2 separate regions of the Homo sapiens genome follow, and region 2 is linked to region 1. Evidence: promoter capture Hi-C in 16 types of primary human blood cells and fetal thymus (Javierre and others, 2016). All regions are on one chromosome and are shown on one strand. Each heading gives the region's core, a stretch centred on a gene start or on the middle of the fragment in contact. The rest is flanking DNA. Distances are from core to core; before and after follow the strand shown. Region 1 holds the start of ART4 (ADP-ribosyltransferase 4 (inactive) (Dombrock blood group)). Region 2 overlaps RERG (RAS like estrogen regulated growth inhibitor).

Evidence for each region. The method cuts DNA at HindIII sites, captures the fragments that hold promoters and counts their contacts. A CHiCAGO score of 5 or more calls a contact.
Region 2: a fragment that was not itself captured here is called in contact with the fragment with the promoter of ART4 in region 1 in 3 of 17 cell types (total CD4 T cells, non-activated CD4 T cells and naive CD4 T cells); the score reaches 6.0 in total CD4 T cells.

The regions. Positions count from the first base shown.
Region 1 is chr12:14,841,705-14,845,693 of GRCh38, forward strand. ART4 (ADP-ribosyltransferase 4 (inactive) (Dombrock blood group)) reads right to left here and starts at 1,822. Exons shown (of 3, transcript NM_021071.4): 1 at 1,266-1,822. The coding sequence starts at 1,409. The HindIII fragment of the contact is 16,901 bases long and covers 1-3,989 here.
Region 2 is chr12:15,215,108-15,219,096 of GRCh38, forward strand. It overlaps RERG (RAS like estrogen regulated growth inhibitor), which reads right to left. Exons shown (of 5, transcript NM_032918.3): 2 at 2,322-2,496. The coding sequence starts at 2,382. Among named protein-coding and RNA genes, the nearest start is that of RERG, 4.3 kb to the right of the region's middle. The HindIII fragment of the contact is 2,617 bases long and covers 569-3,185 here.

The DNA.
Region 1 (3,989 bases), core at 572-3,071:
TTTCTTACTGAAAAAGGGCACGCTACAGCAGTCACATTGTTAGGTCTGATAGCAAGTGGCTTGTTAAGAGCAAATTCCAGAATGGGACCGACTCGTTTGCAGGCAGTACTGAACTGGGGCCTGCCCAGGTAAGATTCTTGTCATGGGGAAACAGAGAACTGATGCCCTTTGCCATCAGGCTAACTCCCAGGAGGATGAAGAGCAGAGCCAAACTCAGCACACCCAGTTGTTTTTTCCCATGTTACCAGTCAAGTACATTTGTCCCCCTCAGGGACAGCAGAGTGAGTCAAGGGTTGGACAGTGGTCAGGAATGTGCCTAGGAAAGTCCCTCCCCTCCTGGAAAAGGACATTCCTTTCTAATGGGTAGCCAACAGAATGTTGTTTATTCACGTCTAGTGCATGCTAAACTGAAATGACAGATTTGAATAGAAGTCCACAAAATATCATCAGACTATCATTTAGAGCCATATATAAATTATATAAATTCTAAAACATTCCTTTCTTGGCAAAGAAATGATGTTTTCGTAATAAACAGTACTCATTGAGGGACATGTTAAAGGATCACATTCCATCCAGTCAATGTTAAGGATGTTGGAACTGGAACTTAAAGAACATCCCATTTGGTATTTTTACTATGTTATTTATGATGAGACGTCAGCTAGTTGTTTGTGAACTAGAACACATTTTTAAGACTGATTAAATGATTTTAACCAATAACTCTTCACATCAGGTATTAAAATAGGTCTACGGTATCTATTTAAGCCAAGCCGAGCCAAACCAAACCAATAATACAATGTTCTGTCAACTGTCATGATGAACTCTGAAACTTTGTTAATATGTTACTAGATCTCAAATATGTACTCTGTCATCTCTTAACATTAGGTTGTTTTTTGTTACACAGATCTTTATTAAAATATTCACTTAAAACTTAAGTCAATCTGTATGCTAGAGTTTAAAGCCAAATAGACTTGGTTTATTTTGCATTGTTTGTACTATGGAAGCAATATTTTACTTAATTTTTACAGTGGATCAGGAAAATAACTTTATGCCACTAGCATCCATAATGTCAAGTGTACTAACAGTGAAGGATTCTACAATTTTTCATAACTGTTTTCAACACTCTTTACTAACATGATTTGTTAAAATGTCTGAATGAAACTAGATTCTGAATGCCTAAGTTTTCGGCCATTTAAAGGCTGTGGCCGGGTGAATGCTCTGTTGGAGCACTGATCATAAAGAGATCACCCCCTCAATTGTCCCCCTACCTCAGAACCCTCTGTGGGTCTCTGCAGGCCAGAGAGGAGCAGCAGGAATGGCAGCAGGCCTCCAAGGAGCCAGATTCTCATCGTTGCAGGAGGTACAGTAGTTGGGAGAAGAATCTTCTTGCATCTGTTGATCAATGGACCCATTTGCTTGTGTCACAAGTACTTCTCCTTTGCCCTTGCAGCTTCATCCTGAGATGAATTCTCAGAGTTCTCCTTTGAGGTTTTCTTTCAGTCTCATCCGTAACCGTTTTTTCCCCTGTCTATGCTGAGCAACTTCTGTTGCCCACCAACAACCAATAGCTTGTCTGAGGGAAGAAATCAACTCCGACTTCTTTGCAAAACTGAAATCTCTGTGAAATAGCCAGATGCGCACACCAAATAAGGGTTTCTAAAGAGAACCCAAGTTACTTTTCAATTAAAAAAATAAAATCTCTGATCTAGTCTGTATTCAGGGGAATGCCGAAGTCCTGTTAAGTGTCAGACTCAGCAGTTCAGCCTTCCCTTTCCCAGCCAAACAGGAAAAAGCATGCTCTGTCCAGCGTTTGGGGCCAAGTAGCATTATCTGGAGCCCCAGGCTTCCATCAAAACTGATAAGATTGGCATGCGCAGGGCGGCTGGGAACGCGCCACCCTGGGTGTCTATAGGCTCATCTGGCCCTGCTGATAGGCCCTGCCCAGGACGGGCGTTCACAGAGCAAAGTGTGTTTTAGAGTTATTGTCAAAAAGAAGGCTCTTTGTACTGCTTTTCCCTGGCACCTTTGAAACTCTCCAATCCAGAGATTGTACCTCTGGGTTCAAAGCTCTTCCCCCATTTTCTCTTCTGAAGACAGGCCCTCTGTCCGCACAGTTCCAGTCTCCAGTGAATCCTAATGACGACTGTCAGGAGACTGCTTATGTAGAGCTGACATAAGTTAAAATAGGGTCCACTGTGCAAACTTAATCCAGCACAGTTCTATTAAGCACTCTCTTTTAGGTAGGTACTACCCTTTCTAGTCTAAACATCCTTCTTCTCCTCCCAACCCTTGATATAATTATATTTTCTTGCAAATATTTTGTATTTATACTTCTGGATTCATTATTTAAGAAACTAAAAGTTAGCAATCCTTGATAATTGTTTTTCTTGCAAATATTTACTTCTGGATTCAATTTTTAACTTTTAAGGTAAACTAAGTGCTGTTCTTAAGTATTCTAGAATTTTTTGGCACCCTGAATTTTTTTAATCTAAATTTTCTGATGATCACAGCAGTTCTGTCTCATTAACAAATATTCAGAATATTTAGAAAGCACAAAGGAGAAAAAAATGACACATAACCCGTCACTTGGAGACAGCCACTAATTAGGTCTGGATTTTGATTTATACACCCTTAGACATACACACACACAGGTTTCTAGAACTGAAATAATATAGTATGCAGTTTTGCATACTGTTTATTCCCCTTAATATTTTAATGTAAGCATGTCCCTATATAATTTAATACCTATTGAAACATTTTTTAAACAAAGGTTCACTATATTCCATTACATAGGTGCTGCCACACAATGGGACAGCATGGGTGGATCCATGGACAGTCTCAGAAGAAGATTGATAAGTGACTAGAACATGGACTCTTGAATAAGACATCTCAGTTCAATTCCTGGTGCTCCTTCTTCCTAAATGTGTGATCTTGGACAAGCTACTTAACCTCTCTGTCTCTCTGTTTCCTCATGTGTTGAATGGAGATAATAATAGTACCAACTTCATTTTAGTGTTGATACATTCATACTCCTTAGAATAGCATCTGGCACCTAGAAATTTTCCAACAAATAAAACCAATTATTATTATTTGCACCAAAGTTTATTTAATAAATATCTTATATTTAGCTTGTTTTCAACTACATAAATTTTTGTGTGTTTCTCACAATTTTTAAGATGCAGTTCTAGAGATGTGACTACTGATCCATGGAATGCATATTTTTCAGATTTAATGGCAACCACTAGCAGTGTGTGAAAATATCCCTTTAAGACTTTAACAATTCTTAAGGTTCCTTATTAGCAACTGTTACTTTGGAATATTGAGATGTCATGAAGAGAACTAGACTTAGAATATGAAAATTTGAATTATAGTTTGAGTTCTACCCACAATGCTGGCTGAGGTAACTTTAAAAAATAAGTAATTTGTGCTTAGCCTCAGTTTCCTTAACCTTATAGAAAGTTGTCAGGCTTAAATAAGGTGAAACTTTTCTTTTATTGAGCAAGTACTGTACTTCAAGACCTTTTTGCATGTTATCTCAACCCATGGGACGACCATGAAGAGATATTTTAACCTTTCCTTTATAAATGTGGTTGTTGAGGCCCTGTGAAGTTTAATAACTTTTTAGTAATCACAGGTGCTTTTCTGTCTCCTGAAGCCCACGATCTTAAAACACTCTAAAAGAGTGTGTCATTTTATTATTATCTTCTATAAAGGTTTTGCTATTTTTCCTATCGTGACTGCCACTTCCAGGATAAGACCACTGGAGGGCAGCAGAAAACTTTGTAACATTTTATACCACTCAGTCTAAAAGAGGGAGAACAGAAAAGGGAATGGGGCAGGGAGCAGGAAGGGGGATAGAAAGAGAGAGAGAGAGGGAGAAAGATAGAGGGAGAGAGGGAGAGAGAGTGAGGGGGAGAGCAAAAGAGAAGGGGAGCGAGAGAGTGGGGAGGGGAGGGGAGAGAGAGAAGGTAGGGAGAGAGAGAGAAGGTGGG
Region 2 (3,989 bases), core at 627-3,126, 370 kb after region 1:
AATGTATTCAAGGCAAATAGAGAAAACAGTCCAAAGAAGATTTGAATGTTAGAGTTGGAAAGAAACTTAGTGAGCAATTTCAACCTGTGCATTTTACATAAAATAAAATTCAGGTCAGCAGAATTTGATCTCTCTGTGCAGGTGTTATCTTCAGCTTTGGGTGTGAGTAGCACTTCTAGGGGCAGTGTATGGAGTAAGGACGCAAGAGGATGATATATAGAACCCTGGAAGCTTCAACTTTGAGAAGTGCGCAGACGAAGAGCAAACCCATGAAAACAGCTAGTTAGGAGCTACGGAGAGAGAGCAGCAAAGCCAAAGAGTGTGATGTCATGGGAGCCTGGGAAGGAAGGAATTTCAGGAAAGAATAAGCAGCTGTGTGATGATAGAAAGAAGTCTAAGAAGATCAGAACTGGAAAATGATCATTAGATGTGTTGGTCATTGTTTGGTAGTGACCTTAGCAAAAGCAGTTTCAGTAGCATGGTTGTAACAGAAGATGGCTATGTTTTAAGCAATGAATGGGAGAGTTAAAAAAAGATAAGACAGTAAGGGAAGAACCCATATTCAATAAGCTTGAAGAAAAGAAAAAGATGAAGCAGTGGACGAAGACATGCGTGAGGAAAAATGGTCAGGTGAGAATGAGAGGAATAATTGAAACAATGTGGGGAAAGGCAACGAAAACAGGCATCCCAGCTCAGGCTGATGCATGAGCCTTGACAGGAGGAGACACCCAGCTTGCTCCGAGATCATGAAGATGGGAAACGGATGGACGCACGTACAGCTACGTGGTTCTCTCAGCTGAGTTTTCATTTTTATGTTTGACTTCTTAAATCGCATGTAGGTTATTTTAACAAATGATACAAGGTTTTAAAAAATCTCCTTCCCTTATTGCCTTTGGAAGTCTGGAATGAAGGAATAAATGGTCAGCCTCAAGCCTAGACCCTGCACTCACAAGGAGTTAGACAAGCTCTTGCTGGCAGTGCACATCTTCTCCCACACTGCCTTCCCTCCATCCTCCACTCACAGGAATCATTTCCTCATTCTCCAGATCCTTCTACCAGCTACAGAAATTAGGTTCTCACGCCATTAGGAAACACTGAGGAGATTAACAGGGAGGAGTTTAACTATCTTCAATCTTGTGAAGGCTGGCAGTTTCTTAGCCTTGCCAACTATCTATTTTCCTTGTGTGGTTTCTGCCAGAGGCAAGAGCAAACCAAACAGAAGAAAATGGTGGTAGCAGGAAAGAGTACTCTTGAGAAAATTAAAAGAAAAACGAGAGACAAAGACTTAGAAGAGGGAAGATTACTGCTGAAATTAAACCAGACAGCAGGTTAGAAAAGAAAGGTTGGTCACAGAATTAAAAAGCAATTATGTGTATTTGTCTAAGATTTTGTGGATTACCTAATGTATTGGATTATACAGTTTATTTCCAAACAGGTTTCCCTCTACAAACATGCACCTACCAGATATCTGTTTGAGTCCTTTCCTGAGAACCAAAAGCTCTGTGTACAGTTAATTATGGTTCCTTCCTCCAGTAAGAGACTAAGGCAAGAGGTTACCCTGAAAGGTCATGCTGCCCTAATGTTTCAGCAACGTTGACTTTGGAATTCTTTAATTATAAGATCGAAGATGTATTTTTCAAATTAGATAGCAGGTACATTTTTCACTTCCACCATTTCACCCTTAATCTTAAAGGTCTGCTAGCGATTTCTCAGATAGTGAACAAAGTCTCTGAATTACTGATGTTAGCCAGAACTTGCTAATTTAAATTCACTGCAGAGGCATTCGCAATAGCTATCTTGCTTGAGAGCATGCACTCCTAAAGTTTCAGGAATCCTCTCAGGATTTTTGAGTGTTTGGCAATAATGCAATTCTGTTTCTGATAAAGCTAGATTCACTTAAGCATTTTTAAAGCACCTAACACATGCTTGACACTGGACTGTTTGCTGAGAATATCAAAATGAATGAGATGTAAAATCAGTCCCTCAAGATCTCATACATAGAGAAAAGAACAAATATATATTTTTTAATTTCCATCATCTGATTTCTTTGGAGGTTGTTAAAAATCAGAATGCCAAGACCTCTGATATATCCTTTATCTTGTGTGTTATCAGCAAAGCTACTTCAGCATAAATAAGCAAAAGGATACGTAACAGTCGATTACGCAAAATAAAAGTTCTAGATGAAGAGACTTTATCTAAAAGAGTAAGAAATGAAAATAGGAGGAATACCAACTACTCACCTGCCCAATCCCAAGAAACAGTAATAAAGAAACACACTCACCCACACACACACACTATAACAACCACAACGAAAATCTTACCTGACTTGCCCACGCCTGCTCTCCCAAATATTGCCAGTTTGACCTCCGCACTTTTAGCCATGATGGGTGTTGGTAGACAATTTACTGTTGTTAAAACTAAAGCACTGAGTAAATCTTTTTGGTTCCAGTCTTTGGATTCACCATATCATTGTGAATCTTGGAAGAGTCCACAATCCTTAAACAAAAGAAATTTGGGAATTCATAAGTGACTGGAAAATGAATTAATATTTATTGAGCATCTACTATATGCCAGCCACCATTCACTTTTTCAACATTTTCTGGTTTGATCTTTACCACTATCCTGTGAGAAGTCTATGGTAACTTACTGTAAATGATTTAACTAATAAATGGTAGATTCAGGACTTGGATTTGGATCTGGTTGGTACTAAAACGTGCATTATCACACACAATAGCATTTCTAAAGTACTTCCTCAAGAAATTTTCTTATGAAGGTATTGATTCTTGATAGTAACTGAAAGTAAAAGTGAATACACACATTTACCATCTATCTGTAAGCATTCAGTGTACAAACACATGCAGTGGGGCAATGGAGAGAGTCACTTTTGGGCCTCTTCATGTCTCTTTGGGTTGAATAACATACATTCATATTAGTCAACTCCAATGCAACACAATTCAATTTTGCATCTCAAAGTTAAATTTTTTCTCAATTCACACTTGATCACATGATGAATTCCTGTGACAGATACAGATACACATGTTCTAGGAATCAATATATAATACATAGATTACATTTCTATATTTTGCTGGACACAATGCCCTGGTACAAAAACGATAAATGCCATGCTCCAAGTTATTCCTTTTCTATGATGACTTCAAGTAAATTTGTTTATAGTGCTGTCTTAAAGCTTGGGAAATAACATTATGTACAAAGTAAGCACATCTTATTTAGTTTGGTGCTTTAGGAGTGACATCTAGGTTCTTAGGATCATGGAAACGTAAATTTGGAAAGAGCTTTGGTGGTGGTGGGGGCTGGAGTGGGGGTCATCTGAAGAAATCTTCTAGCCATTCTTCTAGCAAGAATCTTTCCTTAGGACATAACAATCATTCCATATTCCATGCCTGACTTACCACTTCCAGGTATGAAAGGTGGGCTCATTACTTCTGAAAGCTGCTTCATTTCTCCAATTAGGAGGAACTATCTTTCTAATATTGAGCTCTAAACTGTCTCCCTGCGGCTTCTACTCATTTGTCCTCATTTCTCTCTATGAAATAACTCAAAACAAGTCAACTTTTTCTTTCACTCAGAACCGTTCAAGGATCCTAGCATCTAGTAGGACCCTTTGCTCCATCCTAGGCTTCTTTTTTCTAGGAACATGAGGCCCAGCCTGTCCACTTGTTCTTCCCGGAATGTACACTCTCGTTTATGTTTTTTTGACCTTCACTCCCTTTTTCATCATGTGCATTGCCTCCTCAACATCTTAATCACTCTAAAAGCATGGTGTCCACTGCATTCCACTTTGAGATATGACCTGACAAACTGACCCGGTGTAAATTCCCTGAGATTTTCACTATCGTTAATCTGCCCACCATGGTTATACTGTAGCACAGCCAATCACATTAAGCCTCACATCTTTTACACGGACTGCAGACCCCCTCATTCCGAACATTTGCAATCAATGGCTTAAACCTAAATACAGCACAGCACTT